3 separate regions of the Homo sapiens genome follow, and regions 2 and 3 are each linked to region 1. Evidence: promoter capture Hi-C in human tissues and cell types (Jung and others, 2019). All regions are on one chromosome and are shown on one strand. Each heading gives the region's core, a stretch centred on a gene start or on the middle of the fragment in contact. The rest is flanking DNA. Distances are from core to core; before and after follow the strand shown.

Region 1 (3,430 bases), core at 318-2,817:
CCTAACATGCTAGCTCAGGTCTCTTCCTCTTCTAATAAAGCCACATGTTCTCTCCCATGACAACCCATTAATCCATGAATAGATCAAGGGTTTTGCCCTCATGATCCAATCACCTATTTAAGGCCCACCTCTAAATACTGCCACATTAAAGATGAAGTTTCAACATGAGTTGTTTGTTTTTTTTTTTTTTTTTGAGACGGAATTTCCCTCTTGTTGCCCAGGCTGGAGTGCAGTGGTGCAATCTTGGCTCACCGTAACCTTCGCCTTCCAGCTTCAAGTGATTCTCGTGCCTCAGCCTCCCGAGTAGCTGAGATTACAGGCACGTGCCACCACACCCAGCTAATTTTTGTATTTTTAGTTGAGACGGGGTTTCTCCATGTTGGTCAGGCTGGTCTCGAACTCCCGACCTCAGGTGATCCGTCCACCTCGGCCTCCCAAAGTGCTGGGATTACAGACGTGAGCCACGGCGCCAGCCCTCAACATGAGTTTTGGAGAAGACAATTATTTCAAACCACAGTACCAGGAAAAGTGCAAAAAAAAAAAACCAAGGCAGAACAATTATGTGGTGTTGCTTGTGAGAGGTAAAATTTTATTTTATTAATATTTGCTTGTATTTGCAGAAATTCTATAAGAATACATGAGTATTGAATGTTATACAAACGCAGGCGACCATATAATCTTCCATTGAAATGGAACGGTTTCTAGAATGAAAGGGAGGATGTTATTATTATTATTATTATTTTTTGAGACCGAGTCTCGCTGTGTCTCCCAGGCTGGAGTGCAGTGGCGCGATCTCGGCTCACTGCAAACTCCGCCTCCCGGGTTCACGCCATTCTCCTGCCTCAGCCTCCCGAGTTGCTGGGACTACAGGGGTGCACCACCTACGCCCGGCTAATTTTTTTGTATTTTTAGTAGAGAACGGGGTTTCACCGTGTTAGCCAGGATGGCCTCGATCTCTTGACCTCGTGATCCGCCCGCCTCGGCTGCCCAAAGTGCTGGGATTACAGGCGTGAGCCACCGCGCCCGGCCGAAAGGGGGGATATTAATCATTACTCCAGGACGACAGAGGGAAAATCGCTTTGTACTGGACAAACTGGAATGTCTGACCAACCATTATAAAGTGCACGGAGTGGGAGGAGGAATAGGGACATTTTAATTGTATTTCTAAAAAGTATCTTCTGTGGTGAATCGGAAACAAAACTCATTCTTTACCACAGGCAGTTTAAGCGCTGCCTGAAAGATCGAAGGACGGTAAACCACAGACGTGAGAAACGGAACTTTGCGAAAACGCAGTCGTTTTATGTACCGGCTACTCATTGGAGTTACACCAGAGACTCACTACTGGAGTTCATCAGCCAATCCAAAGTCCAAGCGTGAGAGCCAGAGCCTGTAGGAGAGACCTGGGCAGGCCTCAGACCTGAGGAGTGGAGCTCCGCATCACTCAACCCTGGGGGCGGAGCTAGCCCAGGCTCCCACACCCGACGCTCTGGCCCACACAGACGCTACTCTGTAGCATCTCAGGTTCCCTCTGGCTGCACTCTGGAGGACCACACTCGTTTTCTTTTTGGCTGCCAGAGGCCCCCGCATCCACCGCTGAGCTGGGAGAAAGATGGCGGCAGCCGTGCGACAGGATTTGGCCCAGCTCATGAATTCGAGCGGCTCTCATAAAGATCTGGCTGGCAAGTGAGTATTTCCCAGGAACGCGGGAGTACAGAGGTGGGGAAAGAAAGCCACAGCCTTAATCTCCTTAGGTTGGCCACGGCTCTTGGGCGTGAAGCTAGGAGCCGGCCTGACGTCCAAGGGGGCGGGCCTGAGGTCGGCTGGGGAGGCAAATGTTGGGAGAAGCAGAAAGCTGGAGGGGACCTTGTGCAGGGGCCTTCGAGGCTATAGACTTGAAATGATTGTCAGCTTGTTCAGTTCTTGATAGAATCTTTCTGGTCCCTTAGGATTTTGGAACAGCGGTCTGAGAGACGACTGCTACCCTGGCCTTAGTAGCCTTCCCTGGTACCTCTTCCCATCGCTGGCCGGCCTCACACCGAATCTGGCCTCTCTTTGGACCTTCCTCCTCTTTTTTTTTGATTCAGAGAAATGTATATTCTGGGGCCTTGATGCTGCGTTTTTCGGGGAGATGGCTTCTTGGGGCTGGCTGAGGTTGAGGCGGTATGGCCGCTGTCATGTCGTCCAGACCATTCAGACTGTCTTCTGTGGGTCCTTGTGTTTCGGGTATTTTCTCTGCCACCAACTCTGATGGCACATAGGCGGAATGTGCTCATATCGTGGGTCAGGATGTCTACAGTAGTGATGTTTGCAGGAATCTGAATTTTGTCGAAATTTATATAGAATGCTTAGGTTCACTCCAAGTTAAAATGTGTGACGTGCCTGTTCTGCAAGCAGTTGTCAACAGTATTAAGCATAGGTAGGTAGACGTATATTGTTCATTTTCTCTTTGTAGATGTCACAGCATTTCTCTTTTGTAATGAACATGCTTTCTGTTTAAAGTATGCCTCTCTAGGCCGGGTGCAGTGGCTCACGCCTGTAATCCCAGCACTTTGAGAGGCTGAGATCACTTGAGGCCTGAGAGATCTGAGAGGGAGGATCACTTGAGGGCAGGAGTTCTAGACCAGCCTGGGCAACATAGTGAGACCCCCCCCCCCGCCGCCACCCGTCTCCGTAAATAAATAAGTAAATAAAGTATGCCTCTCAAGTTGATCTTAATGTTTACATCCTGACAGCTGAAATCACTTTGATGTATATTAATGGGATACACCTGTTCTAACCTGGTCATTGAAATTCTGACTGTTTTAAGTAGGCTAGGCTGCCTTTTCTCTGGTGGCAAACGTAATCTACTTTTATCAGTGGGAAATTCAGCCGTATATTTTGGGCTTAACTACTTTGTGCTGCATTTTCCCACTCAGGAAAATGAAGATAATAATAGGACTTATTCTTGTCTGACATTATCTGAGGACAAGATGAGTATGTGTGTGCATATATACTTACCACACTTATATCACGTAGAACAGTACCTGACATATAGAAAGTGCGGTAAGATTGTTGTTGTTACTATTAAGCTGTCAGTAAATATATATTCACTTATTGTATGGGTTGGAAATAAGTTAAATATGTCTTCATGGCTCAATCCTTTCTGCTTGTAATTTTTATATGGATGAAAGTAAAATCAGCTTATATTTTTCCCCATGCTTCCTTTACTTTTTATTTTGTTAAAGAAGAATAAGTGCATTAGTTATCAAAAGAAATAGAGCTTTGCAAGTATTTGCAGAATTCTGAAACTTAAGTATTTACTTCTTCAGGTCTGAATTGGAGATAAACAATAGTACTTAAAGCGTGCTTCAGTTATCTGTTGCTTTGTAACAAACCAAAAACTTAACCAGTGTAAAACAACTATGATTTCTCAGGATTCTATGGGTTGACT
Region 2 (3,430 bases), core at 405-2,904, 370 kb after region 1:
GACATGGATGAAGATGGAAACCATCATTCTCAGCAAACTATCGCAAGGACAAAAAACCAAACACCGCATGTTCTCACTCATAGGTGGGAATTGAACAATGAGAACACATGGACACAGGAAGGGGAACATCACACACCGGGGCCTGTTGTGGGGTTGGGGAAGTGGGGAGGGATAGCATTAGGAGATATACCTAATGTTAAATGATGAGTTGATGGGTGCAGCACACCAGTATGGCACATGTATACATATGTAATTAACCTGCACGTTGTGCACATGTACCCTAAAAGTTAAAGCATAATTAAAAAAAAAAGAAAAAATAATAAAACCTGACACCACACTGGAATTACTGACATTTTACTGTTTTAAAGCCTTATAAGAAGAAACTGCAGATACATTCTTTGATGCTTCAGCATAGTCAGATGACACCTTCAAAAATTCCACATTTGAATCTTTGATTTGCCTAAAGTTTAATTTGGTTTAAAGCAATAGCTAGAAATCAGCTCTCTATTTATATTTATAATATAAAATATATATTATAGATAGAGTGCTCAATATACATATATGTAGAGAGAGAGAGAGAGGGTCTTGCTCTATTGCCCAGGCTGGAGTGCAGTAGCATGTGATCTCAGCTCACTCTAGCCTCATACTCCCAGGCTCAAGTGATCCTCCCACCACAGCCTCCTAAGGAGCTGGGACCACAAGTATGCGCCACCAAGCCTAGCTAATTTTTTAATTTTTTGTAGAGACGGGGTCTTGCCATGCTGTCCACGCTAAGCTTAATATTTTTCTAAATGGCGTGGTAGCCATTTGTCTCAATTCCATTCACTGAGTTATCCATCTTTTCCACTGTGACTTGAAGTGTCATCTGTATTAGCTGTTTTCTCTGCTTACCCCACTTCTCTGTCTTCTGAAGAACCAAAACCCAAACCTAAACCCTATATCCTGCTCATAGGGGTGAGAAATGGACCCACAAGGGACTAATGAGAACCCTTCCTGGGGATTTTTCTAACTAGAGTTGACAGCAGAGAGCTCTTTTTGCTTTCATCTTGAAGCCATAAGGAAGCAAGTCTGGTGCTGCCCCACAAAGAAGAGATGGTGAGTATGGACGGTGTTAGGATTCTCTGGTTCTAACTGCCCTAAGGCCAATTCTATTGCTGCCTACTGTTTGAGAGCATGGCCACTAAATGTCCCTTTTCGCTTAAGCTACATATGCTTGCATTTCTATTACTAAAAACTGAAAAACCATGTTTATTATTATTACTATTTTTTTTTTGAGATGGAGTCTTGTTCTGTCGCCCAGGTTGGAGTGCAGTGGTGCCATCTCGGCTCACTGCCTCCTCTGCCTCCCGGGTTCAAATGATTCTCGTGCCTCAGTCTCCCGAGTAGCTGGGACTACAGGCATGTGCCACCACGCCAGGCTAATTTTTTGTATTTTTAGTAGAGACGGGGTTTTGCCATGTTGCCCAGGCTGGTCTCAAACTACTGAACTCAGGCAATCTTCCCACCTCGGCCTCCCAAATTGCTGGGATTACAGGCATGAGCCACCTTGCCCAGTCTATTACATTAAATTCTTAAACATATTTAGGTCTGTTTCTATTCCCCACTTTGTTCCTTCCCACTTATCTACTTCTCTAGAACTAAACTGTTTCAGTTTCTTTACATTTTAATATCTTTTAGGGCTAATCACCCACCATTACACGTGATACAATCTTTTATTGAGATTGACCTGGAGAAACACTGATAGAAGAGTGTGTGTGTGTGTGTGTGTGTGTGTGTGTGTGTGTGTGTGTAGATTGTCCTGAACTGCAGATACAGGTATTCAAGTTACTGTAAAGGTACCCTTCTCCCTGCCCCCTCACCTCTAATCTTAAATTAATACATTAATCTTGGATTATAAATCAGTTTTTTACAAATTGGTTAGCAAGAATCAGACCTTTGGCCTGGCACAGTGGCTCACGTCTATAATCCCACCACTTTGGGGGCCAAGACGGGCAGATCACTTGAGCCCAGGAGTTTGAGAACAGCATGGGCAACATGGCAAAATTCCTTCTCTACAAAAATTAGCTGGGCGGTGACACGCACCTGTAGTCCCAGCTACTTGGGAGGCTGAGGTGGGAAAATCACTTGAGCCCGGGAGTGAGCCTCGAACTAGGTGACAAAGCAAGACCCTAACATCTCAAAAAAAAAAAAAAAAAAAAAAAAAGAATCAGAGCTTTACTTAACTAGTAAACCTGGGGTTTCTAGACTTTAAAAAAATCCTCAAGACTGGACTATGGCCCATTGTGAATGCAACTCAGAGGCTGGTCCAAACAGCCAGCAGGCTAGCCAGCTGCTGTTTCACAATCTTTTTAGCTGCAACAAATGTAACATGTGCGGCGAAGCCCAGAATTCTACTAGGACATTAGGATGCCATACTTTGACATATGTAAGGAAATGCAGGGATGGGAGTGGGGCAAGCATGATGGAATGTAATGCTAAAGATAAAATCAAGGACAGGTGTAAGGAACACTTAGGAAGGAATAAAATGGACAAATTTACCAAGACACTATTGTATAATGATTAAGTGTGTGGATGTTACACTGGGGCTGCATGGGTCTGAATCCTCGCTCTGTGACTAACTAGTTTATGACCTTGGGAAAGTTACTTTAGTTTCTCTGTGTGTCAGTTTATTCATCTGTAAAATGAGGATAATAATAGTACCTGTCTTACAGGTACAGGTAATATAAGAATTAAATTAGTTAATTCATATAAAGCACTTACAAGAGTTCCTGGCACATAGATATTTTCTGTGTATTTACCTAGTACTCTAGGTAAATGACTAGCAGATTATAATGGCCTAAAATGTTAAGGCACAAATAACTTAGACTATGGATCTATTGCAAAGTTTCCAAAGGATGTTTCTTAGGTGGGTTAATCATTAATCAAACAAGTTCAGTACTCATAAATATTGCTAGTTAACACTTTCTTTCTTGCACTAGTGTCATCTACATTTGAGCTATGATTGTGAAAAGGGAGAGGCAATATTTAAATTGTGTTTAAAGAAAAGCTTCCAATTGTTAATTGTGGGTAGTATTCATTCTTCTCTGAGATTCCTACTTCGTGCAGTGAAGTGTGTGGGTGCTGGTCGCATACACACATGCAGGACTTGGACATCCAGATTATAAAGTAGCGGCAGCAAAAAGACCTGGGTATAAATGCGGGGTCTATGATGCTTATAGGAGGGAAAGAGCACCCAGATATGGGGTAGGGGTGAGGATGAACCTGGAATAATTTCATAGAAGAGACAGTATTTTAGCATTTTTTAGTTAATCCTTGAAGTATTAGTGCATTTTAAAGATAATTTTCATGCATTGGAAATAATATAAAGCAGTTAGGAAATGGAGGGTTTGGAAATCCTAAGAAAAATTCTGGGGATTTCAAATAGTCCAAT
Region 3 (3,430 bases), core at 584-3,083, 300 kb before region 1:
TCACATCAGATCCTGCTGAAAGCAGGCGTCCTGTCCAAGGTTGGTTACCACCTTGTGCCTTGAGTTGCTGGGGACAGGCTCCGGCTACCTCCCACCCTGAGGTAGAATAAGCGGGTTGGGTAATAAATGAATACAAATTACAGTATTCATTGAAAGGAGTCAATGAGAGGTTCTGGGGAAGCTCCTTTCACTGGTTATTGATAGCCATGCAAGCTGGCCACTCTGGGTACTAAAGACAGAAAGTGAAAATAACCCAGGGACAGAGCTCAGGGAAAGAAACGGAATGTGGGGTGCTAAGAAAGGAAGAACTTCCAGATCCTCCACCTCAGTGGTTCTCAAAGTGTGATTCCCAGGCAGGAAGCATTGGCACCACCTGGAACTTGCTAGAAATGTTATTTTTGTCACTACCAGTCTAGTAGAAAGAGGAGGTGGAGTGGTTCCCAAATTAATGATGATGCTGATGATAATGGCTAACATTCATGGACCAGCCACTGTCCTAGGGACTTTATTAACACAGTTAATCATCACAACAACCCTATGAGGGGTTAAGCGCTATTCATATTCCTGGAATTTTATGAACTAGGGAACTGAGAAGCAAAGAGGTTAAGTAACTGGGCGTACTCACAGAGTAAATGACAGGACGACAGGAAAACAGGTCAGGCTCTCCACGCACACGCCCCACACACCACCAGCATGCACTCCCACACCTCACTCTTCACTCTAGCTTTGGTCTCTTTCACATCAGCCCCCTCCCCAGAGCACAGGCAAGCTAGCTCTGGTGCCCTGTTACGATGCACAGAGCACAGTGGCCCACAGCCTGCACTCTGGGCCAACTGCTTGGGTGTGAAGCTTGCTTCTCCCATGTAGTGAGCTTGGAGAAGTTACCCTCTCTGCCTATTTCATTGGCTGTAAAATGAGGATAATAGCTGTGCCCACCTACCTCATAGGGTGGTTGTGAAGATTAAATAGGTTAATATGCATAAGTGTGCCTGATACACATCATGTCCCCAATAAATATTACCTTATTATCTTGAAGCCTTCTAATGTGTGGAGGGGGAAAAAGAAAAATATGGGAAAGAGAAGAGAGGGAAGAAAGAATTTGGAAACAAGAGCCTGAGAATTCCGTAACAATTTCTCCAGTAAAAATTCACAAGGGTCCCTGCGCCATTCTCGCCTCTGCTAGGGAAGCACATGCTCATGAAGCCTCTGTACGTGCCTGAATGGGGCCATGGGAATCTCCCCACTCTGGGTCTCGGGAACATGGTTGATGAAAGCAGATGGTGGTGACTCAGGCCCACCACCCTCTGACTCAGAACTGCCCGATGTAAGCAGAAATCTATGTCAAAGTACAGAGACTCAGGTGTCCTTGCTGCTGCAAAGAGGCAAATCAGGGTGAGACCTACAAGATTTAGTGCCCTGCTTACACAGGTGCAAGGACAAAAAGAAAAATGGCCACTATTACATACAATGAAGGCTGTGTCTAAAGCCTTAAGAACGTCTAGCTACTTGGAGGAAATGTGAGACTATATTTTATTAAGATTACTGTTGCTGTTAGAGGTAGATAACACAGCAAAAATAACCATCAGAGAATGCCAAGCTTATGGGGCAAGAAGGATCAGACCAGAAGAAGGAAGCCGAAGGATGCAGAAATGTGGCACTGGCTTGATGAAGGAGGCAAATGCTTACTAGTGGAAAGGAGTCAATGCTTTCCCTCTTTCCTGTATCCCATACTGGCCTCCCTCACTTCCAAAGAAACCCAAACCAAACAAAACAATCCCAGCATCAGATCCAAGTAGGTAAAGCTCTGTCATCGGATGAGCCAACCAGACAGTTAACCCAACATGACTTTCTCCGACATCCACTCAAAGCTCTTGGTAATCACACTTTTCCTCTACGTATAATCGAGGAAATTTGTGCAGCTCCGAGATGCAGTTTTTGTGCTATTCTAGCTTGTGTTTCAGATCTGCACAGCTGTGAGAAACCACATAAAGGAGATGTAAGGGTTTACCTTTTTTCTGTCCTTGATGTTTAACAATATATATTGCAGTCTTTAAAATTGTGCTTTTAACCAATTTTGTAATGAGAGATAAATACAAAACATCAAAGCAACAGAAAAATCAAATTAACTTCTCATCCTGCCATGTAACAAATTATCTCTTTTTAGCTGTATTGTTGCTTGGGCTTTTTTTTTAAAACAAGCCTATAGTCAATATTTATAAAGTTGAGCTCAATTTTTTTTTTTTTTTTGAGACAGGGTCTCACTTTATTGCCCAGGCTGGAGTGCAGTGGCACGTTCTCGGCTCACTGCAACCTCTGCCTCCCGGGCTCAAGCAATTCTTGTGCCTCAGCCTCCCAGAGTGCTGGGATTACAGGTGTGTGCCACCATGCCCAGCTAATTTTTTGTACTTTTTTTAGTAGAGATGGGGTTTCATCATGTTGCCCAGGCTGGTCTCGAACTCCTGAGCTCAGGCAATCTGCCCACCTCAGCCTCCCAAAGTGCTGGGATTACAGGTGTGAGCCACCACGCCCAGCCTGAGCTCAACAATTTTTCATTTAGCATTATAGCAGGTCCTCAAAAAAGTGTCATTTTGATCAACATGGTTTTGTTACAATGTTGATGAGATTTTTGAAAATTGATTCCCAGCCGAGGCCACTGTCTGTGCGGTTTGCAAGTTCTCCCCATGTCTGTATGGGTTTTCTCTGGGTACTCTGGTTTCCTCCCACATCCCAAAGATGTGTGTTGTACATTAGGTTGATTGGCGTGTCTACACGGTCCAGATCTGAATGACTGTGTGTGTGTGAATGTGTGGGCCCTATGGTGGGATGGTGTCCTGTCCAAGGTTGGGTACCACCTTGTGCCTTGAGTTGCTGGGGATAGGCTCTGGCTACCTCCCACCCTGAAGTGCAATAAGCGGGTTGGGTAATAAATGGATACAAATTACAGTAAAATAAAAATTTGTAAAGTAGTGAATAATCCTACAGATACACGACAATAAACGACGCAGTGCGAAAGCGCTCAAGGAGCCGCCACATTCGTTACTGCTCGTTTTTCAACTGCATGGTGGAAGGGGGGGCTCCTGACAATTTTCTCATTGCAAACACTTATTCCTTGACTTACCCACCACATGACTGCTGTCACTCACCGATTCACCAAAGACTGGGTAAAAAATTATCTTACTTGTTTTTATTACCGAAATGCATGTATAGCTCACAGTTATTTCCATTTTTAATAGAAGTGTTTTGGGTCTTAATCTAGAAATGTGGTGATGTTTCCTTGACTAGAAATATGTCGTAGGAATTTAGTTCTGTATTCATATCAATTAGCCCGTGGTTAAACTGGTTTCATTATCCATCGTTTCACTTAAAGTCACAGTTTCCAAGAACTTGTCAATGATGTTAAGTGAGGACTTACTGTATTTTATATCAGCCT

What was found. The method cuts DNA at HindIII sites, captures the fragments that hold promoters and counts their contacts. A contact is called where the count stands out against the background at its distance.
Region 2: a fragment that was not itself captured here is called in contact with the fragment with the promoter of COPS4 in region 1 in 1 of the 25 tissues and cell types used here (spleen).
Region 3: a contact is called between a fragment that was not itself captured here and the fragment with the promoter of COPS4 in region 1, in 1 of the 25 tissues and cell types used here (dorsolateral prefrontal cortex).

The regions. Positions count from the first base shown.
Region 1 is chr4:83,033,616-83,037,045 of GRCh38, forward strand. It overlaps COPS4 (COP9 signalosome subunit 4), which reads left to right and starts at 1,568. Exons shown (of 10, transcript NM_016129.3): 1 at 1,568-1,683. The coding sequence starts at 1,610. RefSeq lists enhancers at 1,088-1,207, 1,281-1,575, 1,338-1,687, 1,788-1,837, 1,878-1,937 and 2 more. The HindIII fragment of the contact is 7,675 bases long and covers 1-3,430 here.
Region 2 is chr4:83,403,730-83,407,159 of GRCh38, forward strand. No RefSeq gene overlaps it. Among named protein-coding and RNA genes, the nearest start is that of HELQ, 50 kb to the right of the region's middle. The HindIII fragment of the contact is 4,594 bases long and covers 1-3,430 here.
Region 3 is chr4:82,732,536-82,735,965 of GRCh38, forward strand. The region is part of intron 1 of SCD5 (stearoyl-CoA desaturase 5); the gene reads right to left. Among named protein-coding and RNA genes, the nearest start is that of MIR575, 19 kb to the right of the region's middle. The HindIII fragment of the contact is 5,915 bases long and covers 1-3,430 here.